Linked DNA regions of Homo sapiens: region 2 is linked to region 1. The links are contacts of gene promoters, found by promoter capture Hi-C in blood cells and fetal thymus (Javierre and others, 2016). All regions are on one chromosome and are shown on one strand. The core of a region is centred on a gene start or on the middle of the fragment in contact, and the rest is flanking DNA. Distances in the headings are between cores, read along the strand shown. Region 1 holds the start of ATP8B1 (ATPase phospholipid transporting 8B1). Region 2 overlaps ATP8B1-AS1 (ATP8B1 antisense RNA 1).

Region 1 (5,448 bases), core at 788-3,287:
GCTTCAGCCTCTTGAGTAGCTGGGACCACAGGCGCCCGCCACCATGCTTGGCTAATTTTTGTATTTTTAGTACAGGTGGTGGCTCATGACTGTAATCCCAGCACCTTGGGGGGCTGAGGCAGGTGGACCGCTTGAACTGGGGAGTTCAAGACAAGCCTGGGCAACATAGTGAAACCCAACCCTGTCTCTATAAATAAATAAACAAGTAAATAAATGCAGACATCAGAATGGTATTGATCAGATCTAGGTACAGGTGTAGATTGGATGCGTCCTTGTTTAGTCTCTTCTATGTAACATTTTCTTGGACAGGTTGAGCACTTGGTAGTGGATCTGCAAGGAGGGGGTGCCCCCTTTAGTCTGGAATCCCCTCTTGATTCCTAGGTTTGCTGGCATTTATCCAGATAGGGGCAGAGTCTTCCTAAACGGCTTCCCTCCTTTGGAGTCTGCTGCTCCTTGCATGCCATAACCCAGTCTTGAGAACCTGGCTCACCTTCCATTGCTCCCCTCTCCCAGTCAGTTGCAGGTTGTGGCCACTTCGTGCCCTATCTCTCTTCTGTGGTGTCCCTTGAATTTCCTCCTTTTTACTTCCCCTGGCAACTCCTCCGTATGTCGCTGTCCCAGCCTCTCAAGTGATTCTCCCATCTTCAGTTTTATCCTCTCTAGACTATCTCCCTATTATTTTCCCTAAAACACAACCTTGATCATGCTCATGCTCGGTCCTAAATTGTCAACGGTTTGCAGGTGCTACCAAAAACAAGTCTAAATGTCTTAGATCAACCAGTGTCACCAACAGGCCCTATGTTCTCTTGCATCGGTACCTTTGTTCTGTCGTTAGCTTCAGAATATAAGTGCTGGAAGAGACCATCTGGTCCAATCTCATTTTACAAATGAGGAAACTGAGGCCTGGATAGATTGAGTGACTGACCAGCACCTAGTCAGAGATCAAGTTTGACTCATGAAAAAGAAGCCTAGAGCAGCCTCGGGGTTGGTATCAGACAAGATTCTACCAGTTGGCCACCCGTTGAATACCCTCTCTACACAACTCTGATCCTTAAAGCTGTGGATCTTTGAGTCCCATCAAGCACGGCCTCCTGTAGGAAGCCTCTGTGATGACCCAGTTGGGAGTCTGGACTCTTGGGCATAGATGTGAGCCTCTAGGTGACTGGGAATCGTGTGGGAGTCCTGGCTCCCCTACTGCATTTTAAGCAAACTCTGATCTTTGATTTTCCTCCATTCTTATCCCAACGACTCGGTCCATAGTCGGGGAGCGGCAAAAGTCTACTCAAGAAGGAGGGTAATGTCTATACTGCCAGGGAGGCACGATTCACCCGCTCAGACACCAGCCAGCAACGAGGCGCTGAGTCCAAAATTTCCACCTACACCGCGTGGTTCACGGGCCGCACCTTAACTCCTTTTGACTCCAAACCCAAAAAAACTCGATAGCGTTTGGACTCGGCAGAAAGCCTGCTGGCTGCAATCACAGGATACGTTTCTGGAAGTCTTGAGGCGCAGCCTCTTTCTTCACCCTCCACGCGGCGAACTTTGACGCGCATTCGGTGACCGGTCCCCAAACATGACTTGGCATCAAGAGGACACAGCTCCCCTTACCGAGGGAGCTCAGGTCCCGGGCGCGCCGCGGCCCCGCCAGCTTTCCAGGCTGGCTCAGTCCTCGACCCGGGGTGACGGCCAAGCCAGCCAAGGGCAGCGGGAAAGTGACGCTGGGCTGGAGAGGTGTGGTGGCGAGTGCGGCCCCCGGGGAGCTAAGAGCAGCCGCAGCAACTGGGTCTCAGGCTGGGCGAGGCAAGGGCTCGTAGGCTGGGCTCGGAAGACTGAAAGGGGTGCCCACCTGACTCCAGGACGCACGGAGGGCGTGGGGCAGGAGCTGGACCTGGGCCGCCTCGGGCCGCCCCGGGGCTTGCAGTCCAGCCCCTCTCCGCCCTAGGGAGGGAAAAAGGGAGGGGAGAAGGCCGAGCCCGCCTCCAGCCCCAGCCCCAGCCCCAGCGAGGCTCGGCGGCCGCGGCTGCTGGAGGGAAACCAGAGGCACCTCCCCGAGCGGAGAAACCAGTTTGGCCGGTCCGGCGGAGCGGAGGCAAAAGGGCGGCTGCAGAGGAAGGGTGCACGGACGCGGGGCGGGGAAAGGCGGGGGAGCCACTAGCGAGCCGCGAGAGCCGGAGGTGCCGCCGCCAACTAGACACGCTTCCCCGGGCCCCCGGCCAGCCCCCGTGCGCCATGCAGCGCTAGCGCGGCGGCCAGGGCTGGGGCCGGGCGGGCGGCGGCAGCGGCCAGGTGCGCAGCGAGCGCTCCGAGCGGCGCGCACCAGGCGGATGCCCCAGCCGGGGCCCAGCGAACGCCAGGTAAGCAGGGGTGCGGCGCCGGGGGCCCCCAGACCTTCCCAAGCCCCTTGGCCCGGCGGTGTCCTGCAGGTTCCCTGGCCGCTCCCGCCGCACTTTGGAGATCCGGGATGCGGCGGCAGCAGCTGTCAGCGCCCTCGGACTCCCGAGCCCGCACAGGTGGGATTTGGGTGGAGGTGCTGGGAGCCCCCGAGGCCTCGGGGACGGCGAGACACGGCCGGCTGGGCAGGCAGCGCTGCGGAGAGTTCCGTGGGGTTTTCACCTGCCTAGAGGAGGGAAATCTCGGGGTGTTTGGGTTCTTCGATCGGTAGCGACACACATGTCCGGGGGTTAAGCCAGGTAGGGCTTGCGGCTCCTTGGGGGATGCCGCTGGCTCCTGTGCGGTGGCTACCGCCCCTCTGGAAGACCCCGGTGACCGGGTCCTGCTGGGGCGCTCTTTGGGAGCAGATGCCAACGTGTCCGAAAAGGACTTGCGGGCCAAACGTATCTGACCGCGGCCCACCTGCCGGGAGGGATGGAGGGGGTGAGATCGCTCTCCTCCCCAGCTCCTGTGGCAGGGCCAGGTACTCCCAGACATCTTCCGTGCGCTTTATTGTGGGATGGGGAGGGGAGGTGATGGGGAAGACCGACACCACTGTTTTTCCGGTGACTGTCGGGTCGCGTCCGCCAGCCCCGCTGAGATGGCTGCAGGCATCTCCTTCCCTCAGCAGTTTGGTGCCCTGCGCTGTCACCTCGCTGTGTGCACGAGGAGGGGCAACTTGTTGGGGGGCGCGGGGAGATGTTGCAGAGAATGGCCCAGTGCTTTAACACCCCTCGCCCCCACTTCTCCAACTCCCTCCTTCTCCCCAAAGTGAAAGAAAAGTTCTGAAGTGTCTGCCCAACTTTTCCGACGGAGGCGTGTGCCTGTGGTCCCTGCCGGGGGTTGGTGGCTGGTTGCGGGGGGGGGCGGTGCTCGGAGCGCAGATCCGTGACGGTTGTACGGGGGAGACTGGATTGCAGTAAGGATGCAAATTGGGGAAGGGGGATTGACACGCAGAAGTAAGGAGGACTTGGGCCGCGCTTCTGCCCGGTGAGTACCCGCTCAACCCTACCCGACCCCCTTGGCCTGCACGCGCTGCCCTTGGGGGCTGCAAGCTCTTCCTGGGTAGCTCCAGACGCCGCCGAGTTCCTCTCCCGGAAACTGGCCTCCCTGTTGGCGTGAGAAAATATTCGCTCCCATCTTCCTGGTTGCATTGCCTTCAAAATTTTGCCACTACCCATGGGAAACTAAAAAAAGAAAAAACTAGTGGGATGTTTGGAGATCACCCGGCACACGGTAGGTTATCGATGAAGGTTAACTGCTTTCAGGAACAAAAGCTAAAAAAAACCACGCGTGATAAAGCCTCCAGGGATAGTGAATACGAGCCCGTATATATGGGGGACACGACAGCAAATGTGAAGTAGAAGCGCTAATTTTCGTCCGCTAAGGAATACTTTTGTGTTAGACCTAAGATGCCGTTCATTAATTCTGGGCCTGTTGTTGAAGGCTTTATTAAACCCTATTATAAATGCGCAGACTGTGCACAAGATGATTAATGCTTATTAGCTGATTACTTTCTGGGGGAGAAGTCACGCCTGCCTGCAGTTAACTCCTCTGAATTCTCTTAATGATTTTCATTAGGTGGTGGAGTTTTCCTTGCTATAATTTTGGGAAGGAACATTAACCACTTTGTTCATTCGTCGTTTTCCAGTGGCTGTATTTTAGTAACTTTTAGTGATTCTTTGCGTGGGTTATTAAGGGCCGAGCAAGACTCTTTTGGTTATTACTGTCCAACACAGATGCCACCTGTGTGAGGTCAGCTCTGGCTGCTTTCAAGTTTTCCTTATGGATTTTAAGGAACACACACACCTGTGTGCACATGTTATTACATCCTAGTGATAGAACTGGGAGAGGTTTTGTTTTGTTTTTTGTTCAATAGAAGTTTAAAAATAATAATGTGGTACAGCAAATGGCTTCGCAAAAAGAAGTCTTCGGTGGTAAGGCAAGTTCAGGACTGATTTTATGTTTAATCTGATTTTCAGTCTAGGGGATCTTAGTGCTAATGGAGTCACTACCAGATCTGGCTGTAGAATGTTCTTTTCCTTTCCTTCCGTCCATTCCTCTTTCCTCTTTCTTTTCCATCCTTTTGAAGCAAGGAGTAGTGGAAAATATAAAAATGCCCACAGATTTCAGTTCTTTTCCTTATTAATTGTATAACCTTAAATGAATTCTTGTTTTCTGAACCTCTGTTTGCTGCTCTGTTGAGGGGAAAAGATATTATCAATCTCTTTGGATTGTTGAAAGAATTAAATCAGAGAACATATGAATGTTCTTTATATATAGTCAGTGTTTGAATGTTGGTTTCTTACTTTCTTTATTAGATTGATATCTAAAAATACTATTATTGCAGGTATCTGGTATATTTTTAAGATTTTATTGCCTTATGAATTAAAATTCCATTTTAGTTTTTTATAAGCAACATTCACAGAATGCAGGTAATTCTAACAACTCCAGAGAGATTTTTCCTAGTTACCTTTGCTCTTTAGTGTCGGTTACTGAAAAAGAAACCGATGCACTCATGAATGCAGAGGAACTTGCTTTTTAGGTACCAGAACAAGTTGTTTTTTAAAATTTTTTATAAATAAAATACATAGAGACAGGGCCTTGTTATGTTGCCCAGGCTGATCTAAAACTCCTGGCCTCAAGCAATCCTCCTGCCTTGGCCTCCCAAAGTGCTGGGATTACAGGTGTGAGCCACTGTGCCTGGCCCCAGAACAATTTATGTCCCAAATCTCTCTAAAAAGAGATGCCTTTTAAATTGCTTAAGCACTTAATTTTAGAGTTTATTTGTACACTTGGTTCTAGTTTAGTCTCCTGGAAAGTTTTTCTTAGTGGTGTCTTTAGGTATCTTGTGAGTTTTCAGGTCTGTTGACATTCAGTTAGATTAATTGTATTCATGCCTGTAGGTTTTTTGTTTCTTATTAAGTAAAAAATTAATTTGCTGCCAGAAGAGTGTTAATACCATAAAAAGAAGACAGGTTATATTTTTCATTTTGTTAACCAAGTTACTCCTGAATC
Region 2 (5,489 bases), core at 655-3,154, 170 kb after region 1:
TCCCAGCTACGGGGAGGCTGAGGCAGGAGAATCGCTTGAACCCAGGAGGCGGAGGTTGCAGTGAGCCAAAATCACATCACTGCCCTCCAGCCTGGGGGACAGAGCAAGACTCCGTCAAAAAAAAAAAAAAAAAAAAAAAAAAAAAAAAAATCCAAGGTGCTCTGGCCAAGTTTAAGACATAGATTGTCTCACTCCAGATAACCGGTTTAGGATTTCCAGTTGGAAAGATGTCAATATTCCTTTGGCCCCTGATGCTGTGAGACTGTTGCAATTATTCTGGAAGGCTGTTGTAAGCCCTGAAATGTCTCCTTGTTTCTTTTCCATAAGAGGATTAAAGATATTGGATCTGGCTTGTGAAGTGAATGTGGGAGGGTTTTTTAGTCTAGCATTTCTCATCAGGAATCAATTCTCCCAGTTGACAAGAATCAACCTTTAGAATAGAGGTTGATTTGCCCACTGGGAGTCATCTTGCAGTTTCATTATAAAATGGTTCTGCTGAGCCAAGCTGCATAATGAATAAACCAGTCTATGGAAATGCTATAGGAGGTTTTCTATTACCATCCATTTGGGGGTTCCCACCTACCTTCAGCTTCCTTATTTAAATTTTGTGTGAACAACATAAAAACTTTGTGTTCATTGAAGAGTTTAATAAAAACAACACAAAGGACTGTTTCTAAAGGAGCTTTGAAAGTTCAAGATTCTAGAAAACTTATATCAAGATTTTATCACTGCAAACATCTTGAGTAAATAGAAACTCAAAAGAGCTCTTTTATATTCACTGTATTTGTCAAAGACTGAGCTATTTTATAGGATTTTGTGGCTTGGGGTGAAAGTATTTTTATGACCTGTTCTAACAGAAAAAAAAAAAAACCCAAACCTGATTAAGATATCATCAGCTGAGCTTCTGAGACCCCCCGAGACCCCTTGGAGCCTCAACTCCGGCCGGGCATGGTGGCTCACGCCTGTAACCCCAGCACTTTGTGGGACCAATGCAGGCGGATCACTTGAGGTCAGGAGTTCAAGACCAGCCTGTCCAACATGGTGAAACCCCATCTCTACTAAAAATACAAAAATTAGCCAGACGTGGTGGCAGGCGCCTGTAATCCCAGGTACTTGGGAGGCTGAGACAGGAGAATTGCTTGAACCTGGGAGGTGGAGGGTGCAGTGAGCTGAGATCATGCCATTGCACCCCAGCCTGGGGGACAGAGAAAGACTTCATCTCAAAAAAAAAAAAAAAAGTCTCAATTCCTATAAACTGATACATGATCGTTCTTCAAACTAACCAAGCGGACTTCATTGCTTTTAGAGGACACAATTAATTCTCTCTGAAAGTTTCCCCACCTCTATAGAGAAAATGTTTTTCTCTCTTTGACTCTGTCTTCACCTTTCTGAACAGCTATCCCAAACCCCACATCGTACCCAGATCAATTCAGTGAAAAAGCTAGCCTGGGCTAAAGTTAATTGTACCTTTAAAAAGCAATAGGGCTGGGCGCAGTGGCTCACACCTGTAATCCTAACACTTTGAGAGGTTAAGGTGGGCATATCCCTTGAGCCCAGGAGTTCGAGACCAACCTGGGCAACAAGGCAAAACCCCCAAACCCCGTCTCTACAAAAAAAAAAAAAAAAAAAAATTAGCCAGGTGTGATGGTGTGTGCCTGAAGTCCCAGCTACTTTTGAGGCTGAGGTGGGAGGATCACCCCTGTCTCAAAAGAACAAATAAAAAATAGTCGGGCGTGGTGGTTCACGCCTGTAATCCCAGCACTTTGGGAAGCCGAGGCAGGCAGATCACCTGAGGTCGAGAGTTCAAGACCAGCCTGACCAACATGGAGAAGCCCCGTCTCTACTAAAAATACAAAATAAGCTGGGCACGGTGGCGCATGCCTGTAGTCCCAGCTACTTGGGAGACTGAGGCAGGAGAATCACTTGAAGCTAGGAGGCGGAGGTTGCGGTGAGCTGAGATCGCTCCATTGCACTCCAGCCTGGGCAACAAGAGCAAAACTCCGTCTCAAAAAAATAATAATAATAAATAAATAAAATAAATAAAAATAAGAAGCAGCTCTCCCTCTCCCTCTCCCTCTCTCTCCCTCTCCCCTCTTTCCACGGTCTCCCTCTGATGCCGAGCCGAAGCTGGACTGTACTGCTGCTATCTCGGCTCACTGCAACCTCCCTGCCTGATTCTCCTGCCTCAGCCTGCCGAGTGCCTGCAATTGCAGGCGCGCGCCGCCACGCCTGACTGGTTTTCGTATTTTTTGGGTGGAGACGGGGTTTCGCTGTGTTGGCCGGGCTGGTCTCCAGCTCCTGACCGCGAGTGATCCGCCAGCCTCGGCCTCCCGAGGTGCCGGGATTGCAGACGGAGTCTCCTTCACTCAGTGCTCAATGGTGCCCAGGCTGGAGTGCAGTGGCGTGATCTCGGCTCGCTACAACCTCCACCTCCCAGCAGCCTGCCTTGGCCTCCCAAAGTGCCGAGATTGCAGCCTCTGCCCGGCCGCCACCCCGTCTGGGAAGCGAGGAGCGTCTCTGCCTGGCCGCCCATCGTCTGGGATGTGAGGAGCCCCTCTGCCTGGCTGCCCAGTCTGGAAAGTGAGGAGCGTCTCTGCCCGGCTGCCATCCCATCTAGGAAGTGAGGAGCGTCTCTGCCCGGCCGCCCATCGTCTGAGATGTGGGGAGCGCCTCTGCCCTGTCGCCCCGTCCGGGATGTGAGGAGCATCTCTGCCCGGCCGCCCCGTCTGAGAAGTGAGGAGACCCTCTGCCTGGCAACCGCCCTGTCTGAGAAGTGAGGAGCCCCTCTGCCCAGCAGCTGCCCCGTCTGAGAAGTGAGGAGCCCCTCCGCCGGGCAGCCACCCCGTCTGGGAAGTGAGGAGCCCCTCCGCCCGGCAGCCACCCCGTCTGGGAAGTGAGGAGCGTCTCCGCCCGGCAGCCACCCCGTCCAGGAGGGAGGTGGGGGGGTCAGCCCCCTGCCCGGCCAGCCACCCCATCCGGGAGGTGAGGGGCGCCTCTGCCCGGCCGCCCCTACTGGAAAGTGAGGAGCTCCTCTGCCCGGCCAGCCGCCCCGTCCGGGAGGGAGGTGGGGGGGTCAGCCCCCCGCCCGGCCAGCCGCCCCGTCCGGGAGAGAGGTGGGGGGGTCAGCCCCCTGCCCGGCCAGCCACCCCGTCCGGGAGGTGAGGGGCGCCTCTGCCCAGCCGCCCCTACTGGGAAGTGAGGAGCCCCTCTGCCCGGCCAGCCGCCCCGTCCGGGAGGGAGGTGGGGGGGTCAGCCCTCCGCCCGGCCAGCCGCCCTGTCTGGGAGGTGAGGGGCGCCTCTGCCCGGCCGCCCCTATGGGAAGTGAGGAGCCCCTCTGCCCGGCCACCACCCCGTCTGGGAGGTGTACCCAACAGCTCATTGAGAACGGGCCATGATGACAATGGCGGTTTTGTGGAATAGAAAGGGGGGAAAGGTGGGGAAAAGATTGAGAAATCGGATGGTTGCCGTGTCTGTGTAGAAAGAGGTAGACATGGGAGACTTTTCATTTTGTTCTGTACTAAGAAAAATTCTTCTGCCTTGGGATCCTGTTGATCTGTGACCTTACCCCCAACCCTGTGCTCTCCTGAAACATGTGCTGTGTCCACTCAGGGTTAAATGGATTAAGGGCGGTGCAAGATGTGCTTTGTTAAACAGACGCTTGAAGGCAGCATGCTCGTTAAGAGTCATCACCACTCCCTAATCTCAAGTACCCAGGGACACAAACACTGCGGAAGGCCGCAGGGTCCTCTGCCTAGGAAAACCAGAGACCTTTGTTCACTTGTTTATCTGCTGACCTTCCCTCCACTATTGTCCTGTGACCCTGCCAAATCCCCCTCTGCGAGAAACACCCAAGAATGATCAATCAATAAATAAATAAATAAATAAATAATAAAAAAAAAAATAAGAAGCAGTGGTAAGCCAGAGCATACACAGCCTGGAAAGCCTGTAAGGATGTTGAGGTGAACCCTGAGAGCAAAAGGAAGTCCATGGAAAGTTGCTAGATAGAGAATGAAATGACTGTGTTTATATTTGTAAGTGTTCGCCCTGGCTGGAGTGTGAAGATTAGATTGGAGAGGTGTGGGGAATCCAGAAGATGGGTGGAGAGGTTAGCCAGAGGGAGGATGTGACTTGCATTGCACTAGAGGGAAAGGATGGATGCCAAAGCACGAGAGTTTGCAGGTTTCAAGGGAGGGCTGTCAGACAGCATCCATTTAATAGCTTGAAGCAAGAGACTGGTCATTTGCTGAGATTTGGGGCTGTGGGAAGGACCTACGGTTTGAGACATTCTGAAATGCTGACCAGAAAGCCCACTGTTGGGGGAAGACAGGTTTAGTGGGAAGGGCAAATTGAGAGACGAGGTCCACCAAGCAGCTCTCAGCAGTTTGAAGGCTTCAAGTTGTTATTCATGCATATCATGGAACAAAAGAATAACAATGATTAACCATTAATGCCATTTATATCCTAATTCAGAAAGCTTACTGGATGTCAAGTACATGTTAGGCATATTTTGGTATAGCTGATCTCATATTATCCTCACAATAACCTTCCCAGTGAAGGGTTATTATCACTTTATAATTGAAACATCTGTGGCTCAGAAAGGTTAAGAAACTTGACCAGGCTCACCAAGCCAGAAAATGAGTTCTGTGATCTATGGAACGTATCTGGCTTCATTCAGAGCTCTAACGGTACAGGAGTTACCATTGTTCACCCTCCTTAAAGAATGAGCATCCAGCGGGACTTTAAAATAACTGTAATTTTTTTTAGTGAGAGACAAGGTGCTTACAAGCAAGCAGCTTGCAATCATGAAGCCTGGGAATCACTGAAGCAAATCTAAGTGCTTAAACTTAACTACAGGAAAAGGAAAGTTAAGTTTTCGGTTCCTCAAATTAATATTTTCATTGTAATGATAATTTCCACTTTTAGTTTGCCGTTTACAAGCCAATTTTATTTTTTATTGCATCTATCTATCATCTATCTATAATTTATTTATTAATTAGAGACAGGGTCTCTCTCCGTAGCCTCAGGCTGGAGTGCAGTGGCGTGATCACAGCTCAGTGCAGCCTCGACCTCCATGGCTCAAGCGACCTCCCACCTCAGCCTCCTAAGTAGCTGGGACCACAATCCCATGCCAATAAGCCCGGCTAATTCTTGTATTTTTTATAGAGGGGCGGGGGCGGGGGTGGCTCACCACGTTGCCCAGGCTGGTCTCGAACTCCTGGCCTCAAGCGACCCTCCACCTCCGCTTCGGCCTCCCAAAGTGCTGAGATTACAGGCGTGAGTCACCGCCCTCGATCTCATTTAAAATATAACTGAGATTTTCCAACTGCTTCACTGATTTGTTAACTAAGTGAACTCTGCTTGGACCCCTCCCCGATTCCCGGTACTGGGACAGGGAAACGAGCCCTAGAGGCGCCCGCAGTGATGTTTGCCTGTTCTCTTACCGAAGCCTGTTATGAGGAGCAAAAAGCAGAATGTCCAAGAAGGCTCTT

What was found. Contacts are between HindIII fragments. The CHiCAGO score rates a contact against its expected background, and 5 or more counts as called.
Region 2: a fragment that was not itself captured here is called in contact with the fragment with the promoter of ATP8B1 in region 1 in 4 of 17 cell types (M0 macrophages, endothelial precursors, M2 macrophages and 1 more); the score reaches 7.7 in M0 macrophages.

What each region holds. Positions count from the first base shown.
Region 1 is chr18:57,799,904-57,805,351 of GRCh38, reverse strand. ATP8B1 (ATPase phospholipid transporting 8B1) reads left to right here and starts at 2,037. Exons shown (of 28, transcript NM_001374385.1): 1 at 2,037-2,354. RefSeq lists an enhancer at 1,780-2,417. The HindIII fragment of the contact is 11,863 bases long and covers 1-5,448 here.
Region 2 is chr18:57,630,471-57,635,959 of GRCh38, reverse strand. It overlaps ATP8B1-AS1 (ATP8B1 antisense RNA 1), which reads right to left. Exons shown (of 3, transcript NR_164148.1): 1 at 5,442-5,489. Among named protein-coding and RNA genes, the nearest start is that of ATP8B1-AS1, 2.9 kb to the right of the region's middle. RefSeq lists enhancers at 2,242-3,090, 5,368-5,489, 5,381-5,489. The HindIII fragment of the contact is 5,144 bases long and covers 1-4,476 here.